Regions from separate parts of the Homo sapiens genome. Here regions 2, 3, 4 and 5 are each linked to region 1. The links are contacts of gene promoters, found by promoter capture Hi-C in blood cells and fetal thymus (Javierre and others, 2016). All regions are on one chromosome and are shown on one strand. Each heading gives the region's core, a stretch centred on a gene start or on the middle of the fragment in contact. The rest is flanking DNA. Distances are from core to core; before and after follow the strand shown. Region 1 holds the start of CEP89 (centrosomal protein 89). Region 2 overlaps ANKRD27 (ankyrin repeat domain 27). Region 3 holds the start of NUDT19 (nudix hydrolase 19). Region 4 has its middle 6.6 kb from the start of PDCD5. Region 5 has its middle 14 kb from the start of SNORA68B.

Evidence for each region. Contacts are between HindIII fragments. The CHiCAGO score rates a contact against its expected background, and 5 or more counts as called.
Region 2: a contact is called between a fragment that was not itself captured here and the fragment with the promoter of CEP89 in region 1, in 1 of 17 cell types (naive CD8 T cells). The highest score is 5.3, in naive CD8 T cells.
Region 3: a contact is called between the fragment with the promoter of NUDT19 here and the fragment with the promoter of CEP89 in region 1, in 8 of 17 cell types (non-activated CD4 T cells, naive CD4 T cells, megakaryocytes and 5 more). The highest score is 8.6, in non-activated CD4 T cells.
Region 4: a fragment that was not itself captured here is called in contact with the fragment with the promoter of CEP89 in region 1 in 2 of 17 cell types (naive CD4 T cells and total CD8 T cells); the score reaches 6.3 in naive CD4 T cells.
Region 5: a contact is called between a fragment that was not itself captured here and the fragment with the promoter of CEP89 in region 1, in 3 of 17 cell types (naive CD8 T cells, total CD8 T cells and naive CD4 T cells). The highest score is 6.5, in naive CD8 T cells.

What each region holds. Positions count from the first base shown.
Region 1 is chr19:32,970,600-32,973,400 of GRCh38, forward strand. It overlaps CEP89 (centrosomal protein 89), which reads right to left and starts at 1,359. Exons shown (of 19, transcript NM_032816.5): 1 at 1,237-1,359. The coding sequence starts at 1,275. FAAP24 (FA core complex associated protein 24) reads left to right here and starts at 1,643. Exons shown (of 5, transcript NM_152266.5): 1 at 1,643-1,747; 2 at 2,585-2,703. The coding sequence starts at 2,598. RefSeq lists enhancers at 1,167-1,386, 1,767-1,816 and a silencer at 1,497-1,626. The HindIII fragment of the contact is 6,189 bases long and covers 1-2,790 here.
Region 2 is chr19:32,635,022-32,637,792 of GRCh38, forward strand. The region is part of intron 12 of ANKRD27 (ankyrin repeat domain 27); the gene reads right to left. It also overlaps the pseudogene RPS12P31. Among named protein-coding and RNA genes, the nearest start is that of SNORA68B, 28 kb to the left of the region's middle. The HindIII fragment of the contact is 4,616 bases long and covers 1-2,771 here.
Region 3 is chr19:32,690,176-32,693,101 of GRCh38, forward strand. It overlaps NUDT19 (nudix hydrolase 19), which reads left to right and starts at 1,646. Exons shown (of 3, transcript NM_001105570.2): 1 at 1,646-2,499. The coding sequence starts at 1,786. It overlaps NUDT19-DT (NUDT19 divergent transcript), which reads right to left and starts at 2,121. Exons shown (of 2, transcript NR_186320.1): 1 at 1,188-2,121. It overlaps LOC124904690 (a long non-coding RNA gene), which reads right to left. Exons shown (of 2, transcript XR_007067226.1): 2 at 2,790-2,926. RefSeq lists a silencer at 1,609-2,018. The HindIII fragment of the contact is 6,189 bases long and covers 1,474-2,926 here.
Region 4 is chr19:32,572,995-32,576,126 of GRCh38, forward strand. No RefSeq gene overlaps it. Among named protein-coding and RNA genes, the nearest start is that of PDCD5, 6.6 kb to the right of the region's middle. The HindIII fragment of the contact is 3,532 bases long and covers 1-3,132 here.
Region 5 is chr19:32,593,358-32,596,491 of GRCh38, forward strand. No RefSeq gene overlaps it. Among named protein-coding and RNA genes, the nearest start is that of SNORA68B, 14 kb to the right of the region's middle. RefSeq lists enhancers at 1-831, 1-341. The HindIII fragment of the contact is 2,118 bases long and covers 247-2,364 here.

The DNA of each region.
Region 1 (2,801 bases), core at 109-2,608:
GATTATCCCACCTCAACCTCCCGTGTAGCTGGGATTACAGGTGCCCACCACCACGCCCGCTAATTTTTGTATTTTTAGTAGAGATGGGTTTTCACCATGTTGGCCAGGCTAATCTTGAACTCCTGACCTCAAATGATCCGCCTGCCTCAGCCTCCCAAAGTGCTGGATTACAGGTGAGAGCCACCTCACGTGGCCTCTACAAAATAATTTTTAAAATTAGCCAGGCATTGAGACTTGGCAGAGTGTGAGGCAAAAAATAAAATAAATAAAAAATACCTAGGTGTGGTGGTGCACACCTGTAGTCCCAGCTACTCAGGAGCCTGAGGCAGGAGGATCACTTGAACCCAAGAGGTTGAAGCCACAGTGAGCTATGATCATGCCACTGTACTCCAGCCTGGGCATCAGGACAAGACCCTGTCTCTAAAACTAAATTAAATAATAAATAAATATAAGAATCCCCTTGGCTGCTACGTGGAGAATGGACCTAGGGGAAGGGCGAGAGTGGAAGCAGAGAAACCAGTGAGGATCTGCCGCAGCAGTCCAGACAGATGCTGGAGGCCGGGGTGTGGGTGGAGATGGGAACAGCTGGCAGATGTATGTAGTGGGTATATCGGATGGGACTTGCTGATGGGGTGTACATGGTGGGTGGAGGAGGGAAAAATGAAGAATGGCTATATCCAGCAGTGCAGCAGGTGTACGTCGTCCAGGAGTTAACTCCGGGCACGGGGACGAATGCTACAGGGGAGGCAGGGTGCTCCTGTCCAACTGTGGCCGACCCTGGGGCAGAAGATTGTTAACGCCGGGCACAGTGGCTCACGCCTGTGATACCAACACTTTAGGAGGCTAAGGAGCTCAAGACCACCATAGGAACATAGCAAGATCCCTGTTTCCACAAAAATATTGAACAATTAGCCGGGAGTAGTGGCGCGCGCCTGTAGTCTCAGCTCCTCGGGAGGCTGGGGTGGGAAGATCGCTTGAGCCCAGGAGTTCGAGGATGCAGTGAGCTATGATCGCACCACTGCACTCTAGCCTGGGCGACAGAGCGAGACCCTGTTTCTTAAAAAAAAAAAAAAAAGTTTAGAACACGAAAAATCAAGGCTTCCTCAACTGAAAACCACTTTCTCTTGTGCCGCCCCCTTGACTGGATCTCAGGCCAAACCCCAACCCGCCCCAACACTTTACCCCTAATTCCCGGCCCCACAGAGCCCCACGCGCGGCGGGCGAGCATCTACTTACGAAATGACTCCTGCGGCCTCTCCGAAATCCCAGGAGCATCCTTGCAGCGCGAGGAGAATGGACCGGGGCCTGGACTCATCAGCAGATCTATCCACAGCCAGGGACCACTCCCTAAAGCCCGCCGCAGGCCCAGCCCTCACGCTTTCTCTTCGCAATGGACTTTGCAGCAACCACGTCGGCCATTGGCTCAGCTCGGCCCTCGACCAATCAGAGCTAAGGTTACTTCCACACCGGTCGTTCTTGGCAACCAGTGGGTACCGTTCAAATCCCCGCCAGGGCGGAAACGTCCGCCCTTATCCGTTCTCTTATTGGTCAGGTTAGACGTCCATTTCTGACGCCACAGCCTATCCGGCGCTGCGGGAGGCGGAGGGCGGGCTGGATGAAGGACTGGGCGAGCACCGAGGGCGTGAACCCGGAAGGTGGCGCGGCCACCAGTAACATGATCTCTAGACTGGGACGGTGGGGTTCCTGCCGGCTGTATTCGGGCCTTGGACTGGACTGAGAAGCTACGGTGCGGATCCAGCTGGGGTATCAGGGGCTAGGCACGTGATGAAAATGAAGGACGCGGACACCAGGACAGGAATCTCCTGGTTCTTAGAGAATTTATTTCGCCACAAATAATTGGCAAACGGGATCTCGCTGTATTGCTCAGGCTGGTCTCGAACTCCTGGGCACAAGCGATCCTCACGCCTCAGCCTTGCCCAATGTTGGGATTACAGACGTGAGCTACCATGCCCAGCCCAGGATTCTTTTAAAACTTAAATCTGATCGTGCCTCTGGCCTTATTGGAATCCAATGCCATTACCACCTCCACCACCACACATCCCGTCTCCAGCCACCCTGGCCTTCATTCAGGCCTTTGTGTTTTCTTTTTCTTTTCTTTTTTTTTTTTTTTTTTGAGACGAGTCTTGCTCTGTCGCCCAGGCTGGAGTGCAGTGGCGCGATCTCGGCTCACTGCAACCTCCGCCTTCCGGATTCAAGCAATTCTCTGCCTCAGCCTCCCAAGTGGCTGGGATTACAGGTGCCCACCACCAAGCCCGGCTAATTTTTTTGTATTTTTAGTAGAGACGCGGTTTCACTATCTTGGCCAGGCTGGTCTTGAACTCCTGACCTTGTGATCCACCCGCCTCGCTCGGCCTCCCAAAGTGCTGGGATTACAGGTGTGAGCCACCGCGCCCAGCCTGTGTTTTCTTATTAGTAATTATAAAGGGAATCTTATTTGACAGTTCTTTGACAAATAATTCAGTTTGCAGAGGGGATCCTGCCCCAGAGGCCCTGGCTTGGAGTGGAATGCAGGGCCGTGTGCAGGAGAGCCTGCTCAAGTGCCGCCTGGCTTTTCCCTCCTTAGGTGGAGACCATCCATGGAAAAGAACCCCCCTGATGATACGGGCCCCGTGCACGTGCCTTTGGGGCATATTGTGGCCAATGAGAAATGGCGCGGGTCACAGCTGGCGCAGGAGATGCAAGGTCGGTGGCCTGCCCTCTGCCAGCCCTTTCCTCCCCTGACATATTAAAAAAAAAAAATCTGCCTATTATTGCCATCTTTTCATCCAAAGCTTATGGAA
Region 2 (2,771 bases), core at 81-2,580, 340 kb before region 1:
GGAGGTGTGAGAAGCCGATGTATACTGTTTGGTCAGCCACCTCCTTACAACCTGGTGAAGGCCTCCACAGAAAATGAGAAAGCAGAAGACAGCCACGCTACAGGGAGCAGCAAGGGGATGGGAGCATCTTTGAGAGGTGGACACCTCCTTCCAGGTGACCAGAGACACCCTGGGCCCAGCAAGGCACAGCAGAGTGATTCCTCTGCAGGGCAGGAAAGCCGGCCAGGGAGTGAACTCTCAGACCAATCTGTTTCTTGCCCTGCAAGAACCAGAGGGCAGGGCAAAAACCACCGCAGGCACGGTGAGAGAAACACAAGTTCCCACAGCCTCATAGAAAACAAGTCAAACTCACAACTCTTACTCCCCAGCCTTGGAAATGAACAGAAATTCTGATCTGCACACACGCATAGGTAGAGACACAAGAGCACACACACACGCATTCTTTTTTATTTATTTATTTATTTGTAGAGACAAGGTCTCACTATGTTGCCCACACTGGTCTCCAACTCCTGGCCTCGGGTGATCCACCCGCCTCAGCCTCCCAGAGTGCTGGGATTATAGGCATGAGCCACTGCACCCAGCCCACATACATACTCTAGAATCTTGCTGATTTCCCCCTAAATATGGAAACAAGGCAGAAGAAAGAAACTTTTCAGAAGAGCCACAGCCAGCCACATCCGAGATGCGATGGATGACCCCCAATTTCACTGGCAGCTGAGTGGGGTGATTAAATCAGACTTCAGAGAAGAGCAGAGATTAATTCTTCAACAAGTACCTGAATACTGTCAACGAGTACAGCGAGATCATGATCTAAAATTTTGGTTAAAAAGATAACTGTGTTCATTCCTTGTTACCGCCAAGTCACGTGGAGGCAGAGGCTCAGGTGTGTTCAAGATTCAGCTGCGTCCGTGACCCACCGCCATAGCCAAGGAAGGCATTGTACTGCTACACCTGTGACCCACTGCCATGGCTGAGGAAGGTCTTGCACTGCTGCACCCATGACCCACAACCGTGGCTGAGGAAGACATTGCACTGCTGCACCCGTGACCCACTGCCATGGCCGAGGAAGACACTGCTGCTGGCGGTGTAATGGATGTTAACACTGATTTACAAGGGGTGCTGAAGGACGCCTTCATCCACGGTGGCCTAGCACATGGAATTCGCCAAGCTGCCAAAGCCTCAGACGACTGCTGAGCCCATCTTGGTGTGCCTGCATCCAACTGTGATAAGCCTGCATGTGCCACATTAGGGAGACCCTAGGTGCTGAACACCAGGTCAAACTAATTAAGATTGATGACAATGAGAAACGAAAGGAATGGGTAAGGCCTCTGTAAAACGACAGAGAGGGGAGACCCTATGAAGGGGCTAGCTGCAGCTATGTAGCAGTTAAGGACTTTGGCAAAGAATCTCGGGCCAAGGATGTGATTGAGGAGTGCTTCACATGCAAGAAATGAACGAATAAAATGCTGGCTCACATGCCTCAAAAAAAAAAAAAAAGATACAATTGTGTATGCACAGAAAAAAAGACAAATGCTAAAATATTAATAAGTGTCACCCCTGGCTAGTAAGTTTATGGGAAGTTTTTGTTGTCTTCACTGCCATTTTATAGACTGCAAATATTATTTGTAAGCAAATATTAGTCTTCTAATTAGGAAAAAATTAAGCTATTCTTTTGGGAAAAAAACAGTTCTCTCTCTCTCTCTATATATATATATATATTTTTTATATATATATACACATATTTGAGACAGAGTCTTGCTGTGTTGCTCAGACTAGAGTGCAGTGGTGTAACCTCAGCTCACTGCAACCTCTGCCTCCCGGATTAATGCAATTCTCCTGCCTCAGCCTCCCAAGTAGCTGGGATTACAGGCACCTGCCACCACACCCAGCTAATTCTTGTATTTTTAGTAGAGACAGGGTTTCACCATGTTGGCCAGGCTGGTCTCGAACTCCTGACCTCAGATGATCCACCTGCCTTGGCTTCCCAAAGTGCTGGGATTACAGGCGTGAGCCACCGTGCCCGGCCCAGCACACAATATAATTTCAATTATGTAAAATATACATGGGTAGGAAAAAGACTGAAAATGCATGAACGTGTCAATAACGAATGAATGGGGTGGAAATGCCTGCACCTGAGAGCACCTGGACAGGCTGATGCTGTCTCCCAGACGCTTTAGCTCATCATTATTTTGGGAGATTCTACATCAAAGTCTGACAAAGATGAATGTTCAATCCTTGGCACTCTCACCTTATAATACAGAGATCTTTTCATTTTATAGATTTCAACTTTGTGATTTCTGTATGATCACATTTTACTCATTGGTATGTAGTAAAACAGGCCAGCAGGACAACCATGGTTCAAGATTCTCACGATTCACATAGAAATATAATCACATCCCCTCGCCGACCCCAGCCAATGCTCAATAAAAACCAAGGAAACAATGGCAAGGCCACTGAGTCCTCAAATTGCACACATTAATGGTCTCACAGATGGCAGTGGCAGCCCATCGGGAGTGGCTGCTGCAAAGACGTAAGCTGCAGTGGAGGAAGCGCGGCCAGGTTTGTGCACTCTGCAGGGCCAACAGGAGCCAGGAACAGGCAGGAGCCCCCATCTCCTACTGAGCTGGCAGGGCGGGAGCCCTGCACTCCCAGGCGCAGCTGCAGCCGCCCAGCCGCAGCTCTGGATCCAGGAATCTCTGCACTCTCAGGGGCCCAGGAAGCATCCCTGCCGCCGCAGGCTCGTAAGTGCCTGCTCCCGCTCCTCCCCACTC
Region 3 (2,926 bases), core at 396-2,895, 280 kb before region 1:
CAGCCTGGTGAGAGCGCCAGACTCCCTCTCAAAAAAAAAAAAGGTTCAGTTTCTGTTGTTTTGCTATGCACCCAGGACCAGGACTTGGTCATCTCACTCATGAGTAACCAGCTTCTGTGAAAACCAGCTGATGTTGAAACACACACATTCACCTACAAAACCACGGTGTTATTTTACAGCAAAGGGAGTAGTATGTTCTTAAGACCCTTAATCCCTCCATAAATGGTTAGTCATCTGTAAAATAGTGGTAACTGTTTCCACTTCATGGGGTTTTGTAAGAATTACACAACTAATACTAATAAAGTTCCTAGTGCCTCACACACTGTACCCAGTAACTACTAATATTATTATCCCCTAGGATTATTATTACTCCTAGTATTGAAGACATGTTACTTTAATCACCTGAGTGCCTTTCTCTCCATTGCTCTGTATTTTTATTTTATTTATTTATTTATTTTTTTGAGACAGAGTCTCGCTCTGTCACCCATGCCGGAATGCAGTGGCAGGATCTTGGCTCACAGCAACCTCCACCCAGATTCAAGTGATTCTCCTGCCTCAGCCTCCTGAGTAGCTGCAACTATAGGCGCGGGCCGCCACACCCAGCTAATTTTTGTATTTTTAGTAGAGGCGGGGTTTTGCCATGTTGGCCATGCTGGTCTTGAAGTCCTGGCCTCAGGTGATCCGACCACCTCGGCCTCCCAAAGTGCTGGGATTACAGGTGTAAGCCACAGCGCCTGGCCAGAGACCAGGTCTCTTCAAACAAAAAAACAAACAAAACCCCTAAATATTGACAATGTCATCTGTGGATTCTACCCAGGAAATAACCCACATTAAAATGATGGTTTGTGAGGGTCGGCAGGGGTATAGTGTATTTCATCCAAAAACATAACAAATGTGTGATCCAATTATAATAGCAATTATGGGAAAAGCTGTCGGTGACTGATAAGGAGTTATAAAAGAAAAGACTCAAATTTACACAGGCTTTTCAAAAGATCATAATCCTGCTATTGGAGGTGGAAGTCTTCTAGACACTAACAAGGTGGAGAGAAATCTCCATGTGGAGGCCCAGATTAAACATCTCCCATCAAAGTGGAACTCGTCAAATGTCCTAAGACACCTAAGGCCGTCCCCAGGCGCCCTGACAATAAAAGGTAACCAGAACACGAGAGAAATTACTCTGGGAGTACCTTTCACATTCAAGGTGTGCAGTAGGAAATTTATAAATTGGCATCTGGCTCGTCCATTCATTTCTCATTGGTGTGGTTCACGTGTGCTTGCAAAGGTCAGACTTCTGCCCTTCGAATGTCCTCTCTCCCTCTCCCACAGAAAACACCCACATGTGGGTCCTTGTTTAAAGCAGAAAGTCCTAGTCCTTAGCTTTTAGTGAGGTGGATGTCATCAGGCCTGGGTTGGCATCCTGTTTTTTACCATGGCAAGTCATATGCGCCCTTAAGCATTCCTGCTTTTGGTCCAAGCTTCCTGCGTGGGAATACTGCGGTCCTCCTTTCAGGCAGCTGTGAATGACAAACGGTCGCTGGCTGCCGTGACACCCATTGTCCCGCGAGAGTGCCCTAGCTGGGCCCCAGTGCACTCGAGGCGGTCCCTGCTCGGGTGCCCCTCCCACAGGCAGGCGCCGTTGCCGACCAAACGCCCAGGTTCACCCAACGCCAGAGGCTCGTCCTCAATTCCCGCGAGGCCCCCGGAGGTGCTGGGGTCCCTGCAGGGCCGGGCCACCTGCCGTGGAGCTCAGGCCGCGCCAGAATCGGATCCGGGAAGCTGCGCGCCATGAGCAGCTCCCTGCGGCCGGGCCCCAGCCGCTGGCGGCGGGCGGCCAGCATCGTCCTGGCGGCTGGCTGGTCGCGCCCGGAGACCGCCACCCCGCCGTCGCGCCCGCCGCCGGCCGAGGGCTTCCGGCTGCTGCTGCTGCAGCGCTCCCCGCACCAAGGCTTCATGCCGGGCGCGCACGTCTTCTCCGGCGGAGTGCTGGATGCGGCCGACCGCTCGGCGGACTGGCTGGGCCTCTTCGCGCCGCACCACGGGCCGCCGCGCTTCGGCCTGGGCCCGGCGCCATTCAGCCGCACCGCTTTCCCGTCGCTGCCCGACACCGATGACCACAAGACCGACAACACTGGGACGCTGCCTGAGGACGTAGCCTTCCGCATCTGCGCCGTGCGGGAGGCCTTTGAGGAGGCGGGCGTGCTGCTGCTGCGGCCCAGGACTTCCCCACCAGGCCCAGCACCCGGGCCTGGCCTCGCCCTGGAGCCACCGCCGGGCCTGGCCTCCTGGCGCGACCGCGTGCGCCAGGACCCGCGCCACTTCCTGCGGCTGTGCGCCCACCTCGACTGCACACCCGACATCTGGGCGCTGCACAACTGGAGCGCCTGGCTCACCCCTTTCTTGCGGGGCACCACTCGCCGCTTTGACACGGCCTTCTTCCTGTGCTGCCTGCGCGAGCCGCCGCCCGTCTACCCCGACTTGGCGGAGGTGGTGGGCTACCAGGTAAGGCCTGCTCAGGGCCTTGCTGCGGACCGCCAGGACGTGAGAGGGAGGACCCCTCCCAGCGGCCCAGGCCCCCAAGGGACCCCCGCATAGGCCAAGCCCAGAGAGATTAAGCAGCAAGGAACGCTTAGACGGGCTGGAAACTCTCACCCCTGTAGACCAAAGCCATGCTCTTGGTGAAGTGCTCTCTGCTTTCCTAGGCTTTGGGGTCTCAAGGCCTGGAGCCTGTCTCTCCACGTGGTTCCTCCAGCGTGGCCACTGTGTAAGCACTTGTACATGTGTAGACATAGTACATCTCCACAGCCGTTTAATTTGGTTTTCTTGGAGAACAGACTTAATATGATCCAGTCTTCCTATTTTTATTTATTTTTGGTACAGATGGGGGTCTTGTCTCTCTGTGTTGCACACCCAGGCTCGTCTCCAGCTC
Region 4 (3,132 bases), core at 255-2,754, 400 kb before region 1:
TGAACATCAGAAGAGACAGACTCCAGACGCGCCACCTTAAGAGCTGTAACACTCACCGCGAGGGTCCGCGGCTTCATTCTTGAAGTCAGTGAGACCAAGAACCCACCAATTCCGGACACAAGATCACACCACTGCACTCCAGCCTGGGTGACAGACAAGATTCCGTCTCCAATTAAAAAAAAAAAAATTTAAAGGGACAGTGTGCAGTTCACTAGGTTATCTCTTCCCTGGTACTTGGTAGCATTGAGATGACAGCTGCTCTGTCAGCCTAGGTCTCAGAGTGAGAAAATGAGGTAGGAGGCAGAACAGACTCCAGAGTCGGGGCTTGGACACCAGACCAGATTGAAGACTAGCTAAAACAGGGATGTGCTGGAAGCTCCTTTCCATAAGACACGTCCACCAGTGCGTCATGTCAGTTTACCACTTCCATGGCAACACCCAAAAATTACTGCCCCTTTCCATGGCAATGACCCAACAACCTGGAAGTTACCACCCCTTTTCTAGAAATTTCTGCATAATCTGCCCCTTGATTTACATATAATTAAAAGTGAGTCTAAATGTGGCTGCAGCACTGCTTCTGAGCTGCTCCTCCAGGCACACTGCCTGTGGGGTGGTCCTGCTCCGCAAGGAACGGCCCCTCTGCTGCTGCTGCTGTGCATGAGTGCTTCAAGAGAAGTTGCTATCCGACACCACCAGCTTGTCCTGGAATTCTCTCCTGGGCAAAGCCAAGAAACCCTCCCAGGCTTAGCCCCAATTCTGGGGCCTGTCCTGCTAAGGAAGAAGGGAGGGTGAAAGAAAGAAAGAAATGTGTAATTAGTTTGTTAGGGATGCCATATAAAACTACCACAAACTGAGTGGCTTAGAACAAAAGAAAATTGCTGGCCATGCAGAAAGAAGTACTGCAGTAGCTGATGATAATAATTTTCCTTTCTGAAAATATCAGGCTGGGCATGCTGGCTTGTGCCTGTAATCCCAGCAGGGATTTGGGAGGGATTCGGGAGGCCAAAGTGGGAGGAAGGTTTGAGGCCAGGAGTTTGAGAGCAGCCTGGGCAACACGGCAAGACCCCATCTCTGCAAAATGTTTAGAGAGCTGGACATGATGGTGCGCACCTGTAGTCCCAACTCCTAGGGAGGCCAAGGCAGGAGGATCACTTGAGCCCAGGAGTTTAGAGTTCAGCCTTGGCAACAGAGTGAGACCCCATCTTTTTTAAAAAAAAAATATTGTCTCACAGTTCTGGAGGCTGGAAGTGTGGTATCAAGGTGTCAGCGGGGCCATACTCCCTCTGAAACCTGTAGGAAGAGGCTCCTTCCCCATCTCTTCCTAGCTACTTGTGGTTTGCTGGTAATCTCTGGCACTCCTTGGCTTATAGATACATCATTCCAATCATGTTCATCTTCCCCTGTGCATGTCTGTCTCTGCATCCAAATTTTCCCAATTTCCCTCCCTCCCCTCATCCCCCACCTTTCTTTCTTTTTTTTTTTTTTTTTTTTGGTCTGAGACACAGTCTCACTCTGTTGCCCAGGCTAGAGTGCAGTGGCACAATCTTGGCTCACTGCAACCTCTGCCTCCTGAGTTCAAGTGAATCTCCTGCCTCAGTCTCCCGAGTAGTTGGGATTACAGGTGTGCGCCACTATGCCTGGCTAATTTTTGTATTTTTAGTAGAAACAGGGTTTCACCATGTTGGCCAGGCTGGTCTCGAACTCCTGACCTCAGGTGATCCGCCCTCCTTGGCCTCCCAAAGTGCTGCGATTACAGGCGTGAGCAACCGTGCTTGGACCAAATATCCCCTTTATATAAGGACACCAGTCATACTGGATTAGGGCTCACCCCCAATGACCTCATTCTAACTTGATTACTTTTGTAAAGACCCTATTTCCAAGGTCACATTCTAAGATACTGGGGGTAAGGACTTCAACGTGTCTTTTTGCAGGGACATAATTCCACTTATAACAGCAGGTTCACAGAGCTCAGCCTTTCAGCTGGCTTCTTACCAGTCAATAAACCCACCCATACACTTGGAGTTCCTAATCAAATCTTTCTTGCTTTCTCCTTAAAAATGAACAGGTTAGGCCGGGCGTGGAGGCTCACACCTGTAATCCCCAGGACTTTGGGAGGCCAAGACGGGTGGATCACCTGAGGCCAGGAGTTCAAGACCAGCCTGGCCAATCCAGTGAAGCCCATCTCTACTAAAGATACAAAAATTAGCCGACTGTGGTGGTGCCCACCTGTTGTCCCAGCTACTGGGGAGGCTGAGGCAGGAGAATCACTTGAACCGGGAAGGCAGAGGTTGCAGTGAGCCAAGATTGCACCACTGCACTCCAGCTTGGGCAACAGAGCGAGACTCCATTCCCCACCCCCCGCCCAAAAAAATGAACAGGCTAATCAAGGACCACCAACTATCTAATGACAGCCTATGGCATGTGGGAGAGACTATAATAACCATGTTTTCTTATTTTAAAATTTTAGATACAGGGGTCCACGTGCAGGTTTGTTACACAGGTGTATTGCATGATGCTGAGGTTTGGGCTTCTATTGATCCTGTTACCTATATAATGAACATAGTACCCAACAGAGAGTTCTTCAACTATTCCCCTCCTCCCTCCGTCTCACTGTCAGAGTCCGCAGTGTCTGTTGTTTCCATCTTTATGTCCACGTGCACCCGAGATTTAGCTCCCACTTATAAGTGAGAACATGCAATTTTTGGTTTTCTGTTCTGTGTTAATTTGCCTAGGATAAAGGCCTCCAGCTGCATCCATGTTGCTGCAAAGAACATAATTTCTTTCTTTTTTATGACTGCATAGTATTCCATGGTATCTATGCACCATGCATTTTCTAGTTTCTGTTTTTGATGCTCTGACATCTTGGGGCCTTGCTGACCCTGGAGGGATGGTCCCTCCCAGGGCTAGCCACATCCTAAAGATAGTAAGTGACTCTCCTGTGAGCACAGCTTTCAGATGCACACCAGCCAATCCAGAAGTCATTCCCCAACCACCTCCGTTTCAGGGCCCTCACAGGGCTGTTACACTCAGGGCAACTATTTCTCTGCCCTAGTCACCCCAGGGCCCAGTACCAGACTATTAGAAGCAGAGCCCACAAAAATTACTCAAACTAGCCAATCCTGAGCCTGCGTA
Region 5 (3,134 bases), core at 56-2,555, 380 kb before region 1:
TTCTTTGACTAGGAAAGGGAACTCCCTGACCCCTTGTGCTTCCCGAGTGAGGCAATGCCTCGCCCTGCTTCGGCTAGCGCACGGTGGGCTGCACCCACTGACCTGCACCGTCTGGCACTCCCTAGTGAGATGAACCCGGTACCTCAGATGGAAATGCTGAAATCACCCATCTTCTGCGTTGCTCACGCTGGGAGCTGTAGACCAGAGCTGTTCCTATTCGGCCATCTTGGCTCCTCCCTGACCAAAAGCTTTTAAGCACGTGTACCAGCATGACTCTACCCTTTGCAACTGTGCCATGAATATTAGATAGGAAAAGTGTCCGTGGCGGAAACAGAAGCTGCTCCAGCACTCTTCAGGAAGAAAAATATAGCAGCAGCAGCAGCAGCCGCCAATAACATAAGGGGAATTAAAACCTGTCCATCAGACTGAATCAGGTTCAACATTTGAGCACATCTAATATTCTAAGATGTAGATTCTGAAAGCAGGTAAGCTCTTTCTCTTCCTGCAGATACTACTTCCACTTAATGTAAGAAAATTCCTAGCTTTGCCAGGCACAGTGGCTAACACCTGTGATCCCAGCACTTTGGGAGGCTGAGGCTGGCAGGTCATTTGAGGTCGGGAGTTTGAGACCAGCCTGGCCAACATGGTGAAACCCTGTCTCTACTAAAAATATAAAAATTAGCTGGGCGTGGTGGCACACACCTGTAATCCCAGCTACTTGGGAGGCTCGAACCTGGTAGGCAGAGGTTGCAGTGAGCTGAGATCAGGCCATTGCACTCCAACCTGGGTGATTCCATCTCAAAGAAAAAAAAAAGCTAGCTTTGATCTCATTTATAATTGTTTTTCAGAGGTACTGATATTAACAAATACCACTCCCTCCAAAATAACTAGAGTGATAATGACTGAAAAAGAAAATGACCAAAATAGACATGTTGGTAATGCTACTACAGTAATAAACATGTTTGTAAGAGAAATGACTTCTAATGATTTCAAATCCAGTTGAGACACTTCAGCATTTAAACATTTTGGTAACATATCACTGATAATGTTGCAGGTGACTTAAATGTTCTCTCTTTTGTTGTGCTTTCTTTCCACTAGGTTATGAAAACCTGCACTCATAAGTTACGGTTTTCAGAGACGGAGACTTGCTGTGTTGCTGAGGCTGGCCTCAAACTCCTGAGTTTAACTGATCTTCCCACCTCAGCCTCCCTCGTAGCTGAGACTGTAGGTGCAAGCCACTGCTCATATATTTAAATCATAAACTTAACCATCAACCAGCTGTTTGGTGTAACCTTTTAAATGTCGTAGTCCTGTGAGACCTAGCACAGGATTAAATTCATAAATTTAACAAGGTGAATAGGATTAGTAAAAAAATGAAGGGAAATGTGGTTTGCAAACCCCAGTCTCTGCGTTAGCCAGCATACTACTGATACATGTTTAAACTGGAGATTCTACTATATTTGAAATTTGCAACTATTGTCAGTGAAGAAATAGAACAATATCTAACATTATAAATAAGTAGAACCGTTGAGAACATCAACATATTTTTAAAAGAATGATCATAAGATGAAATCTGGCTGGGGATTTTCTGTCAGGGTAAACTGGTAATTTAAAAAAAATTTGGTCGGGGATTTTGAAAAAAATCCCATTTACAGGTAAATTTTGCTTTAGGCCTCATTTACATACAAATGCTAGGAGGACATGAGGCAGTTCACAAGTTCTGTGCTTTCTCACAGGATAACCACTGTCCTAATGGCAACTGCTGTGAGTGTGTTTAAAGATGGTCAGACTCTTTCAGACACCTACCTGAGAGTGAAAAGTGGTTCCATGTACAAGGAGAGAGGTTCCTGATGGCAATAAGAGGCTGGAGTACATTTTAGGGAGTGGAGAGTGGTTATTCTAAACTTTCTAATTTAAATCAGTGAACTTGCGTTACTTTGAATTCAAAACTTTTTTCCACAAAAATGGAAATTAGGGGCATTAATTTCTCAACTGTCACATCAAGTTTTGGGTAGGGAAAGCAATTGGAAAAAACAACTGGTTGTTTGCTTTTTTTTGAGATGGAGTATTGCTCTGTTGCCAGGCTGGAGTGCAGTGGCATGATCTTGGCTCACTGCAACCTCTCTCCCAGGTTCAAGCAATTCTCCTGCCTCAGCATCCCAAGTAGCTGGGATTACAAGCGCACGCCACCACACCCAGCTAATTTTTGTACTTTTAGTATAGACAGGGTTTCACCATGTTGGCCAGGATGACAACTGTTTTTTAAAAATAATCGAGGGAGTCACTTAAGATGGAAAACATTACTGATGACCAGAATAGCTCAAAAAGAAACAGCATTTACCTCTCCAGAGGAAGGGTACACCAAGCTTGCAGCTGCCACTGCCAACCAGGCCTTGATCCTGGCTGTGAGATCCCTCGCAGTCCCCTTATTTTTCTGAACCTGTTTCCTCATTTGACAATTCTACCATTCACAGTGATTGTTGAAATTAAATGGGTATATGTGAAAATGTTTTCAGCTGGGCGCAGTCGCTCATGCCTGCAATCCCAGCACTTCGGGAGGCCAATGTGGGCAGATCACTTGAGGTCAGGAGTTCAAGACCAGCCTGGCCAACATGGTGAAACCCCATCTCTACCAAAGATATAAAAATTAGCCAGGCATGGATGGTGGCAGGTACCTGTAATCCCAGCTATGCGGGAGGCTGAGGCAGGAGAATTGCTTGAATCTGGGAGGCAGAGGCTGCAGTGAGCCGAGATGGTGCCACTGCACTCCAGCCTGGGTGACAGAGCGAGACTCCATCATCTCAAGAAAATGTTTTCAAAATTATATTGCACTACCCCAACATATTAGGTGGTGTCAAATGTGTGTATTTGTATCTTGAGAATACCTGTGCTGATAAACTGTATAGGATGTATTAATTAGGATGGTATAGAACCACAGCAGCTTCAGTCTATAAGGTGGTTTTGTTTAAAAGTAGGGAAGGCTGGGCATGGTGGCTCACACCTGTAATCCCAGCACTTTGGGAGGCCGAGGCGGGCGGATCACGAGGTCAGGAGATTGAGACCATCCTGGCTAACACGGTGAAAAACCCTGTCTCTACTAAAAATACAAAAACAAAAAAACAAAAACAAAAAAA